Regions from separate parts of the Homo sapiens genome. Here all the other regions are linked to region 1. The links are contacts of gene promoters, found by promoter capture Hi-C in human tissues and cell types (Jung and others, 2019). All regions are on one chromosome and are shown on one strand. Each heading gives the region's core, a stretch centred on a gene start or on the middle of the fragment in contact. The rest is flanking DNA. Distances are from core to core; before and after follow the strand shown.

The links. The method cuts DNA at HindIII sites, captures the fragments that hold promoters and counts their contacts. A contact is called where the count stands out against the background at its distance.
Region 2: a fragment that was not itself captured here is called in contact with the fragment with the promoter of ZNF264 in region 1 in 1 of the 25 tissues and cell types used here (thymus).
Region 3: a contact is called between the fragment with the promoter of ZNF8 here and the fragment with the promoter of ZNF264 in region 1, in 1 of the 25 tissues and cell types used here (spleen).
Region 4: a contact is called between a fragment that was not itself captured here and the fragment with the promoter of ZNF264 in region 1, in 1 of the 25 tissues and cell types used here (pancreas).

Annotation. Positions count from the first base shown.
Region 1 is chr19:57,190,059-57,193,001 of GRCh38, reverse strand. ZNF264 (zinc finger protein 264) reads right to left here and starts at 1,502. Exons shown (of 4, transcript NM_003417.5): 1 at 1,056-1,502. The coding sequence starts at 1,088. RefSeq lists a silencer at 987-1,256 and enhancers at 1,427-1,486, 1,497-1,586, 1,607-1,666. The HindIII fragment of the contact is 13,408 bases long and covers 1-2,943 here.
Region 2 is chr19:55,984,856-55,987,798 of GRCh38, reverse strand. It overlaps NLRP5 (NLR family pyrin domain containing 5), which reads right to left and starts at 1,024. Exons shown (of 15, transcript NM_001433705.1): 1 at 978-1,024. It also overlaps a transcript of NLRP8 not described here. The HindIII fragment of the contact is 8,677 bases long and covers 1-2,943 here.
Region 3 is chr19:58,277,557-58,280,499 of GRCh38, reverse strand. It overlaps ZNF8 (zinc finger protein 8), which reads right to left and starts at 1,545. Exons shown (of 4, transcript NM_021089.3): 1 at 1,353-1,545. The coding sequence starts at 1,418. ZNF8-DT (ZNF8 divergent transcript) reads left to right here and starts at 1,758. Exons shown (of 3, transcript NR_187495.1): 1 at 1,758-1,977. It overlaps ZNF8-ERVK3-1 (ZNF8-ERVK3-1 readthrough (NMD candidate)), which reads right to left and starts at 1,534. Exons shown (of 7, transcript NR_144447.1): 1 at 1-1,534. RefSeq lists enhancers at 950-999, 1,420-1,469. The HindIII fragment of the contact is 27,521 bases long and covers 1-2,943 here.
Region 4 is chr19:58,222,717-58,225,659 of GRCh38, reverse strand. It overlaps the pseudogene LOC100419847. Among named protein-coding and RNA genes, the nearest start is that of ZNF544, 4.7 kb to the left of the region's middle. The HindIII fragment of the contact is 6,243 bases long and covers 1-2,943 here.

The DNA of each region.
Region 1 (2,943 bases), core at 253-2,752:
CCCAGCACTTTGGGAGGTCGAGGTGGGCGGATCGCTTGAGGCCAGGAGTTGAAGACCAGCCTGGCAAATATGGTGAAACCCAGTCTCTACTAAAATACAAAAATCAGTCAGGTGTGGTAGTGCATGCCTGTAATCCCAACTACTCGGCAGGCTGGGGCAGGAGAATTGCTTGAACCTGGGAGGCAGAGACTGCAGTGAGCTGAGAGTGCACCACTGTACTCCAGCCTGGGCGACAGAGTGAGACCCTGTCTCAAAACAAAAAAAAGTATGTGAACACGGGCACAAAAAGCTCAGCATTCCTCACTGACCCCACAGAGCGGCACTGGAAGGGCTGCATCTACTTGGGGAACGACAGGCTCCAGACCAGCTTCCCATGCCCTCTGGGATCTCCCTGGGTCTCCCAGATCCCCCAAGGAAATTCCACAATGAACCAACCATCGGCCTCTTTCCTTACTGGGTTCCGACAGAACTTGTCTCTGACGCCAGGATACTTTGGGGCCACGGAACACGAGCGGCCAAGGATAATGCAGGCTGTAGCGATGAGAGTAAGGGCATCTGACTGGCCACAATGTCTGCAGTAGTTGCGGATGGCTAGAACATCCAGGAAAAGACCACACACTGTTGCCCTCCACGTCTCAGCGGCCGCAGGAAAACCATGGCAACCTTACACACCCTCCTGAGCCTCCTTAAACATACAACATACCTTGTCTCTGCTCGCGCATTTGTCGGCTTGCTACTGCCCTGCCCTCCCCTTCCCCCCTCAGGCCCCCAATTCATGCTGGAATGAGACCTGGTCCACCAGAGAATGCTTGCAGGCCAAGGATGATGGGAGTCCCCAGAGGAAGCATCATTCACTCAACAACCTACGGAGCTCCTTCCAGTAGGCCCAACACTCCTTACGGCCAGGTATAAATTAAGTGGCAAACCAGCTCCACACACCAAAGCGAACGACGACTGCGAAGACAAATCCAGGGGATACCTGGGCTCCCACCCACTTCGGAAACCGCCTCAGCGCTGGCAAGGAAGCGGCAACCGCGAAGCCACCGTCCACTCACCTGGGCCCGGTCCGTCAGCACCGCTGCCGCCATCACGTCACCCCCTGGGCCGCAGAGCTGGGACAGAGGAGCCCCGGGCGGCCTGACGGACCCCACCTGTGCCCGACCCTGGCCGGTTGCCCGGGGCTTCCAGGCGCGCTCGGGGCCGCCGCCTCCTCGGTGGCAACGGCGTTCCAGACGCAGGGCCGCCGCCTCCTCGGTGGCAACCGCGTTCCAGACCCAGGGCGCCGCCCCTGGAGACCGCGGGGCTGAAGGGCGGGGGAGGAGAGACCGCAGCTTGACGGCGACCCAGGAACAAACCCACGGAAGGGGTCAGGCTCGTACAAAGGTGCGGCGGGGATTCCTATCCTACTCCCCTGCTCGGTCCTGACTAGGGACCTGCAAAGCGGCCCCGACCGGGGCCCTCAGTGGCTACAGACCTCTCCAGACAGAAGTGCAGAAGAAAATGGCGTCCGCAGCGAGCAACCCGGAAGTCCCGCCCCCACCGGCGTGAGCCGTCGGAAACGTCCCCGTCCTAGGCCGTCGTTGGCCCAGCTCCCGCCGTACGCATAATGCACAGCCTTCTAAGTAGTGTAGTTTTCCTCATGTGTTCAACAACGGGAGGAACGCTTCACGGCGCAAGTTTTCCTCCCAGGGAAAGGCACTCCAGGACCCGAGGAGACGCTCCAGACCCACCTCTTTACGGTGGGCACAACTCGAGGGGAAGGATGGAGGGAGGGAACCGAGGGGCAAGGGTTACATTGCATTCTTCTCTCGGGAAAATCGGAGCTCGGGAGACAGGGACTTTCCTTCAGGTCAGGGCACAGGCAAAGGCGCAGAACTGGGTCCTCAGCTCGCCTGGCGACTGACCCCCTTTCACATCCCTCCTCCCCGGATCATCATCTTGGAAGACACAAAAAAGCCGAATGATCATCTGGAAGCCCTGCCCCGACACGTTGTGTGCGCAAACTGCCCTCTTTTGAGCCTTCTTTGGACCAGCACAGCCTCTACGTGATGCAGGGAGTCATGTATTTGGCCCAGACCACACAAAAAGTGGATTTGCCCACTTCTGAGGTGGGGAGGCTGCAAGTGGAGGAGGTTCGGAGGCTCAGGATGGTTAGTTTGAAATGTCTACAGAACCACAAAGTATCTCTGTCACAGGCAATTCGACTTACGACTGAATGTTGGAAGAAGGTTTGAGCATGAATATATGAATTTAGGAGTTACCTTACACTGTTATTTCAAGTCATGATATTGAGTGAGACCATCAAGGCAATGCATGTAGATGGAGAAGAAAATACACAGAGCATGAGCCGGGGACCAAGTCTACATCATTAAATGGTTGATGACAATATTACCAGAAAGGCCAGGTCCTTGCATCTAGATCCTGCTGCTTGCTGCACAGAAGGCCAGTCAGCAAGACAATGAGTATTGTCAGGGATGAAGGCTTTATTCGGTGCTGCAGCTGAGGAAAATGGGAGATCAATCTCAAATCTCTTTCCTCAACTGACTAAAACTAGGGGTTTATACATCAGGGAAGAAGTGTAACTATGTTTGAGAAAACAGGAATTAGGAAGGGGTAAGGAAGAGGAATGGGTCAACAGGCAGCAGATGGTCAGTTAGGCAATCATCATGGGTAAGGGGTATAGCATCTCGTTTTTCCAGATGTGGTAATCCAGTAAGTTTCAGTTTCTTTATACTATCTGGGAGGCCTGATGCTTGGTTTCCTGAGAAAGGAAATCAGATAAGACAAATAAAAGTGTCTCGAGTTTTAGGAAGGGGAGGCTCAATGTCTATAATGTGTTGATTCAAAAGAAACCATAAATATCAGTTCTATGGGACACTGGAGCTGGTTTCAGTTCCCTGTTTCTATTTATCAATTCCTCAATCATGGGGAATCTGGACGTGA
Region 2 (2,943 bases), core at 117-2,616, 1.2 Mb after region 1:
GGAAGGCTGCTGGTTGAGGTTATTTTCTGAGGATGAGTGACTTCCCTAAGCTTGCATTTTGTCTCTATGCTTTTTCTACAGACCGTACCCCTCCCACCTCACCTTTCTACCCAGGTGTCCTGAATGATTAGAAAGCAGCAGTTAAGATTATAGGGCTTGAAGTCTCAGACCCAGCTTTGAATGATTTGCTGCTTTCTACCCCAGGCAAGCCATTTAACTTATCTGGGGCTCAGCTTCCTCCCTTGGTAAACAGGACAAACAACACCGTCAGAATTGTATGGCATTTCAATAACTAAGTTACGGTTAACCATAGTATTTGCACAATTAGCACCAAAACACCCTCTGGACTCCTACCAAATGCAGACCAGACATTAGCTAATCCTGACATTCAAGTTGCAGTACCCCCTACTCTGTACTTAATTTTTACTTGAGACGAAGTCTCACTCTGTCACCCACGCTGGAGTGCAGTGGCGTGACCTTGGCTCACTGCAACCTCTGCCTCCTGGGTTAAAGCGATTCTCCCGTCTCAGCCTCCCTAGAAGGTGGGATTATAGGCACATGCCACCACGCCCAGCTCATTTTTGTACTTTTATTAGAGATGAGGATTTCACCATGTTGGCCAGGCTGGTCTTGAACTCCTGACCTCAGATGATCCACCTGCCTCGGCCTCCCAAAGTGCTGGGATTATAGGCGTGAGCCACTGCACCCAGCCCTCTGTACAGTATTTTAGACCGAATGTCTGAAAAGGACGAGAGACTTACCTAAATACCCCAAGTAAATATGAGGTTTTAGAGGAAGATCTTTTCAGCAAAATGGGGTAACTGGACTTTGTTCTTTCAAGGAATCCTTTGGTCCTGGGCTTTGAGCAGCCAGAAGGGAGAGGGTGGGGGCACCTAGTAAGCTCAATACGCGGGTTCTAATCAGCAGTGGAGAACAAAAGCGGGAAGGGCAGAGAGCAAGACAGGAGGAATACTCACCAGCTTCACACCTCACCACCAAGAGCAGGTCCAGCTCTGGGCCAGCTGGCAATCACGGAAAAAAGAAGGCCACGCCCAGCTCCACGCCCACGTGGCGATAGTTCCTGGGGAGCGCTGAGCCAGTGATGTTGCTGCTGCTCATTGGCTGCAACCGGCTCTGAACCACCAGCCCCAGGGAACAGGCACTTTTCTGCACCTGTGTGCACCACTTACAGGTGCTGCTGCTGGCAAGAGGCTGCCTTTACCACCACACACCTGTGCTGAGGGCGCCCGGATGCTCACAGCCTTCAGCTGGCTGTCCTGAAGCAATTAGTGTGTGTGTGTGTGTGTGTGTGTGTGTGTGTGTGTATGTGAGAGAGTGTGTGTGTGAGAGAGAGAGTGCATGTGTGTGTGAGAGAGAGAATGTGTGAGACAGAGACAGTGTGTATGTGTGTGAGAGAATGTGTGTGAGACTGTGTGAGTGGGTGTGAGACAATGTGTGTGAGACAGAGAGTGTGTGTGTGTGAGAGACTGTGTATGATAGAGTGTGTGTGTGAGTGTGAGTGTGTGTTGGGTGCCCTTATTTTACATAATCTGGAAGTTGCACTTGGCATTTTTTAATTTTTTGTGTATTGACAAATTATAATTGTATATTTTCCTGGGGTCCGGTGTGATCTTCTATGTATACAATGTCAAATGATTAAATCAAGCTAACAAACACATCCATTGCCTTGAATACTTATTTTTTTGTGGTGAGAACACTTGAAATGTACTCTCTTAGTAATCTTGAAACAGAAGTTTATACTTTTGATAAAGTCCCATGTATTTATTTTTAGTTTTTTTTGATGTGGAGTCTTGCTCTGTGACCCAGGCTGGAGTACTCAGTGCAAACTCCACCTCCTGGGTTCAAAGAATTCTCCTGCCTCAGCCTCCTGAGAAGCTGGGACTACAGGTGTGTACCACCATGCCCGGCTAATTTTCAGATTTTTAATAGAGATGGGGTTTCACTATGTTGGCCAAACTGATCTCGAACTCCTGACCTCAGGTGATCCACCCGCCTCGGCCTCCCAAAGTGCTGGGATTACAGGCATGAGCCAGTGTGCCTGGCCAAATGTGTTTGAAAATTCCATTTGAAGAATTTATGGTGAATGCATTTTAAAATTTATGGTCTCTCCTTAGGTCATGAAGGTCTTCTGATTAGTTTTTAGAAAGTGTAGTGTCTTTCCTTTCATATTTAGATTTATACTATACTTGGAATTAATTTTGTATATGGTATGAGGTAGGAATTCAGATTTTTTCTTCTATGTAGGAACAATCAATTTAGCACCATTTGTTACAATACTACCCTTTCCCTAGTCTTTTGTAATGTCAGCTTGTCAGAAGTCACGTGATCATGTTTATGCCCTTCTGTTCTGGACTCTATTCTGTTTCCCTAGTATATTTCTCCAATCTCTAATTACATGTATGGAAAATACCATACTGTGCTAGTTATCCTGAACTCTTTGCATTTCTTTTTTTTCTTTTTCATTTTTATTTTTTTGAGACAGAGTCTCACACTGTCACCTGGGCTGGAGTGCAATGGCATGATCTCAGCTCACTGCAACCTCCGCCTCCCCAGTTCAAGCGATTCTCCTGCCTCAACCTCCCTAGTAGCTGGGATTACAGGCGCCCGCCACCACGCCTGGCTAATTTTTTGTATCTTTAGTAGAGACGGGGTTTCACCATATTGGTCAGGCTGGTCTCGAACTCCTGACCTTGTGATCCGCCCACCTGGGCCTCCCAAAGTGTTGGGATGACAGGCGTGAGCCACCGCGCTTGGCCACATTTCTTCATATACTTTAGAATTTGCTTGTAAATTTCCACTAGAGTACTTTGGGAATTTTATGGTAATTGCAATAACTTTATGCATACAGCCAAGGAAAATTGTCATCTTTGAAAGACAGTGTTCCCATTCATGAAGTTTGTATATTTCTCCATTTATTAGGTA
Region 3 (2,943 bases), core at 296-2,795, 1.1 Mb before region 1:
CAACAAGGTTGACTTTGTAACCAGTAAGACACCGTGGAAGTGACAAGAGTGTGAATTCTGAATCCAGGTCATGGAAGGTGTTACAGTTTCTACCTTGCCCTCTCCTGGATCACTTGTTCTGTGGGAAGCCAGATGCCATGTTGCAAGGATCCCTAGCAGTTCCAAAGAGAGGCCTACATGGAGAACAACTGAGGTCTCCTATCAACAGACATGTGAGTGAGCCATCCTGGAGGTGGATCCTCCAGACTCAGGTCTCAGGTGACAACAGCTATGCTGACATCTTCACTGTAACTTCATGGGCCTGAACCAGAACCACCAGCTAGGACATTCCATTACTCCTGTCAGAACTCGTGAGATATTTATTGTTGTTCCAGGTCACGAAGTTTTGAGTTACACAGCAACAGGTAACTAATACACTTTCTCTCAAGCCTTTCTTACGACTCATTCCTTGTCCCCCATCCACAGCAAGAACAAAATAAAACGTGGTAGCATTTCATGCAAATTTGGAGCAACACACATCTGAAAACCTGCAACCTAAGATTATCAAGTCTCACTTTGTGTACCAAATCTGAAATAATGCAAATCCCCATGAACAAACCAACGACAAAAAATAAAAAAAAGTATAATTTCAAAGTTGCAGAGCTTGAGGAAGGATAATTATTGTTGTTTCCTGCCACGCGAGGCAGCTTTATGGAGAACACAGGCCGCAACCACTTTGTCTAGAAAGTGGAGCTCTGATGGCCAGATGGCCCTGCAAACACTGACCGCCCTGCACTGCAGTTCTCCCACAGTCTCGCAGGGGACGACCCTGGTGGTCACTCTCATCACACTCAGTGCGTGGTGACCCATCATTGCCCCCAAGAGGTTGTGCCCAAGCCCCAGGGCAGGGGCTCCGCGGTGCTGGGGTCCCGGTGGGTGTCCGCTGACTCCACGCGTTAAAGCATCTCTATTCGATGATTCTTGCCATCTGGGCACCCGGCCAACGCTACAATTACTGTTATCAGTCAACACGAGGACAGACCTTCCTGGAATGGGCAAGGGTGTCGGCGGGGCGGAGCAGAACGCAGGAGATGGGCCTGCTCGATTCTCTCGGGAATGACCGACCCCAGCCCTGGGGAGGACAGAGCCGCGTGGAGCATGCGCATTCGGGGGCCAGGCGCCTGGTTGGAATCCCGGCCCCCTCTCTGACCAGCCAGGACGGTCACCACGCCCCGACCCGCGTCTGAGTTTCCCCACGTGTCAAGGGCATTAACAGCGGTGCCGCTCTCATCGCGCCGCGAGGTGAAAGGGTCAGTCTGCGCGGGAGACGCTTGCCCGGAGCCCGCCGCCGTCGTTATTGTTGTTATTGTTACCTGAAGCCGGGCCGCCGGCGGCCCCACAGACATCACTCCCGCTACCCCTTCGTCCTCGGGGTCCATGCTGGATCGCCCAGTGAAGGACAGCGCCTGAGGTGATCCCCAGACCAGAGAGGCACTCCAGCCAAAGGGACCACCCGACTCGCCGAACGCCGGACAATGGCGGCCGCACCGGCGACGCGGCGACTACAACTCCCAGTAGGCCGTGCGGCGAACCACAGCCCTCGGCCAATGGGAGTCTCCGCTGGTCTGGCCTTCGACCAATGGAAGCATTATGGCCGATGGCCAATGGGAGCCCCCACCCGCTGGCCTCTGGCCAATGGGAGCACTCAGCTAAGGCTGGTGGGGGCGGTGTTGCTCGGGGCTGCGATGCCCCTTAGGTTGCGGGCAACCAGAGGCCTCACTCGTGGGCAGGAAGCAAGGGCGGACCCCGAGAGATGACTGATTGTGGGGGTGGGGACCGTCTGCTCCTCCTAATGGCTGGGGACCGTGCACGTCTGCGCGGGCCGGACCTGCTCTTCTCGGGAACTTGCGCGGGAGGAGGCCCGGAGCTGCGCCGCTTTACCCTCTGCTCCCCGGTGCCTAAAACGCACACGCATCAAAGTCACAGGACGAGTTAGAGGTTTGTTCATATAAAAGACTTTGGGCTTAGCGGCTGGAAGCGGGGAGGCTGGGAGCGGTGGTTGTGTTACAGGAAAGGGGTCCGATTCAGACCCCAAGGGAGGGTTCTTGGATCTCGCGCAAGAAAAAATTCAGGGCGAGTCCGCAGTGCAAAGTAAAAGCAAGTTTGTTGAGAAAGTAAAGTTGTGAAACAGCTACCCCATAGACAGTAGGACGTTCCTGAAAGTAAGAGGAACGTATGCACCCTAGGTACAATGCTTGTGTATATTTGGGCTAAAAATAGATTTTGGGGAGATGTGCTCTGCTACAAGGGTTTGTGAAAAAGGATTAATTTTCTTACTGTATTTTTCAAGAATCGATATTATTTTTAAAGCAAAATTAGGAATGCCTTTGTTCTCTAGATACCGGGATATCTGGACACTCCCAAGTCTGGGTCTGTTTTAGTACCCATTATTAATTTGTTCCCTTAACCGTAAACATCTAGAGGTTAGGAATACCTACTTTTCTGGGAATGCAGCCCAGCCTCATTTTCCTAGCCCTCACTCAAAATGGAGTCGCTCTGGGTCGAATGCCTCTGACAGCCCTATTGCTTCTCCCTGTGGGTGTTCACTTTGTGATGTGTCTTTTTCTGTGGGTCTGTTGTAGTCCATTAAAATGTTTATTAAAGGTCGGGCGCGGTGGCTAACGCCTATAATCCCAGCACTTTGGGAAGTCGAGGCGGGTGGATCACGATGTCAGGAGCTCGAGACCAACCTGGCCAATATGGTGAAACCCCGTCTCTACTAAAAATACAAAAATTAGCCCGGCGTGGTGGCGGGCACCTGTAGTCCCAGCTTCTCGGGAGGCTGAGGCAGGAGAATCGCTTGAACCTGGGAGGCGGAGGTTGCCGTGAGCCGAGGTCAGGCCACTGCACTCCAGCCTGGGTGACAGAGCAAGACTCCGTCTCAAAAAAAAAATAAAAAGTTAT
Region 4 (2,943 bases), core at 288-2,787, 1.0 Mb before region 1:
CAAAAAATTAGCCGGGCATGGTGGCGGGCACCTGTAGTCCCAGCTACTTGGGAGGCTGAGGCAGGAGAATGACGTGAACCCAGGAGGCGGAGCTTGCAGTGAGCCGAGATCACGCCACTGCACTCCAGCCTGGGCAACAGAGCGAGACTCCATCTCAAAAATAAAATAAAATAAATAAAAAGTTCATTAACAGTTTGACTCAAGAATGAGTTATCTGGTGCCTGACATGATTAGAATGCTGCCTGAAAGGCCTTTCTGCACTGATTATATGCATACAGTTTCTCTCTATTATGAATGATCTGGTGTTCCATAAGGTCAGATAGTCTCCTGAAGGCTTTTTCACATTTAGACATTCATGTTGGCTTTTGCCCATATGAATTTTTTGGTGCATACACAATAATAATTCTGTCTGAAAGTTTTTCCACGTTGACTACATTTATAGGCTTCTCTCCAGAATGAGTTATTTGCTGTTCAATAAGGTGAGAATTCTTGCTGCGGGATTTTCCACACCAGTGACATTCATGAGGTTTCTCTCTAATGTGAAATCTCTGATGCCATATAAGTAATCAGCTCCAGCTGATTTCCTACACTCAGGACACTCGCAGTTTCTCACCGGTATGATTTATCTGATGAGCAACAAGTGAGAACTCTAACTGAACCATTTCCAACACTGATTACAGTCACGAAGCTTCTTTCCAGTATGAGTTATTTTATGTGCAACAAGGCCAGAGCTGTATAGAAAGATTTCCTACCTTGACTACATTCATAAGGCTTCTCTCTATTACACTTTCCCTGATGCCAATTAAAATCAAGGATGTCACTGAAATATTTCTCACATTGATTACATGGAATTGTTTTTCTTCAGTATGAGTTTTCTATTGCCCAATTAGATGAGATCTCCTGCTGAAAGCTCTCTGACGTTCCCGATGTTCCCAGAGTCTTCAGTATACGTCTAACAAGGTGGGAGCACCAGGCTGAAAAACTTTCCACATTGATTACATTCATAAATTTTCTATCTGGTATAAGTTGTGATGTGCAACTAGGTGAGAGCTCCATCAAAAAGATTTACCATGTTGAATACATCCATGGGGTTTCTCTCCAGGATGAGTCCTCCCCCTTTGAGAAAGGCAAGAGCTATAAAAGAAGTTTTTCTCAAATTTATTATAATCACATGAATTATTTTATTTTTTTTTTTGAGTCTTGCTTTGTTGCCCAGGCTGTAGTGCAGTGGTGCGATCTCTGCTCACTGCAAGTTCCGCCTCCTGGGTTCATGCCACTCTCCTGCTTCAGCCTCTGGAGTAGCTGGGATTACAGACCCCCGCCACTATGCCTGGCTAATTTTGTTTTTGTATTTTTAGTACAGATGGAATTTCACCGTGTTAGCCAGGATGGTCTCGATCTCCTGACCTCGTGATCCGCCCACCTCGGCCTCCCAAAGTGCTGAGATTACAGGCGGGAGCCACCGTGCCTGGCCAAATTATTTTATCTTTTAAGATTCTCTGGTGTACATTTAGGGATATACTGGGGGTTGTTTTTTGTTTTTTCCTTTTGGCCAGTAGAGATCTAGTGTTGTTCAAGTTGTCTATATTTACTATAGTTATAAAATTTTCCTCCTGTATGACTTTTCTTCTGAATATTAAAGGGTAAAACATGGCAGAAATAAAGATTATTGTTGGCATGCTTATACAGTTTATCTTTTGTTTGCTTTCTTATTAGATGATTAAGGTGAAGCTCTGACAGAAAGTTGGTACACACTCATTTTTGCACAATTTTTCACTTCCATAATTTTTTTTTTTGAGACAGAGTCTCGTTCTGTCGCCCAGGCTGGAGTGCAGTGGTGCGATCTTGGCTCACTGCAACCTCTGCCTCCCAGGTTCAAGCAATTCTCCTTCCTCAGCCTCCTGAGTAGCTGGGATTATGGGCGCGCACCACCACGCCCTGCTAATTTTTGTACTTTTAGTAGAGTCGGGGTTTCACTATGTTGATCAGCTGGTCTCGAATCCCTGACCTCGTGATCTGCCAGCCTCGGCCTCCCAAAGTGCTGGGATTACCGGCATGAGCCACCGTGCCCGACTATAATTTTTCTAATGATTATTGAAATAAACTTATTTTTCAAACTTTTATTCTGTGAGCCAGGTTTATGGAAATATTATAGTATGAATTATCTGGAGTGGAAAAAAGTTGGAACTCAGGAAATAACAGAAAATTCAAATAGAAGATGACATAGACTCCCATCCTGAAATTAAATCTTATGTTTTCATTTTTGGATGACTCTCGTTTTTGCCCAAGTGCATGCTCACTTTTACATGTCTAGAAAAACTTCATACCTTGTGGCTGGGCTCAGTAGCTCACGCCTGTAATTCCAGCACTTTGAGAGGCTGAAGTGGGCAGACCACAAGGTCAGGAGTTCAAGACCAGCCTGACCAACGCGGTGAAACCCTGTCTCTACTAAAAATACAACAATTAGCCAGGCATGGTGGCGGGAGGCTCAGCTACTCGGGAGGCTGAGGCAGGAGAATTGATTGAATCTGGGAGGCAGAGGTTGCAGTGAGCCAAGGTCATGCCATTGCATTCCAGCCTGGGCAACAGGGCAAGACTGTCTAAAAAAAAAAAAAAAAAAAGAAAAAGAAAAAAAAAAACTTCATACATTGAACCTTACATTCATATTTTCTCTTAACTAATTATAGCAGACATCACTTTCAATTTGCTCCAGCCTACTTCTTCCCCCTCATCTGCACCTCTTTCAGTGTAAAATCCTAGCATTCACCTCCCACACTCTTCTCTATTTCCAAACACAACATAAACAATACTGTAGTAAACACCCCCGGACACCCAGAATTAGTGCCTTCATTTCTATAGGTCAGAGCCCCTCCAGTGGGACTGCACAAGTTGAAGGATAAGTGTATTTTTGATTCTCTTAGGTATTACCAAATTACTTTCCAA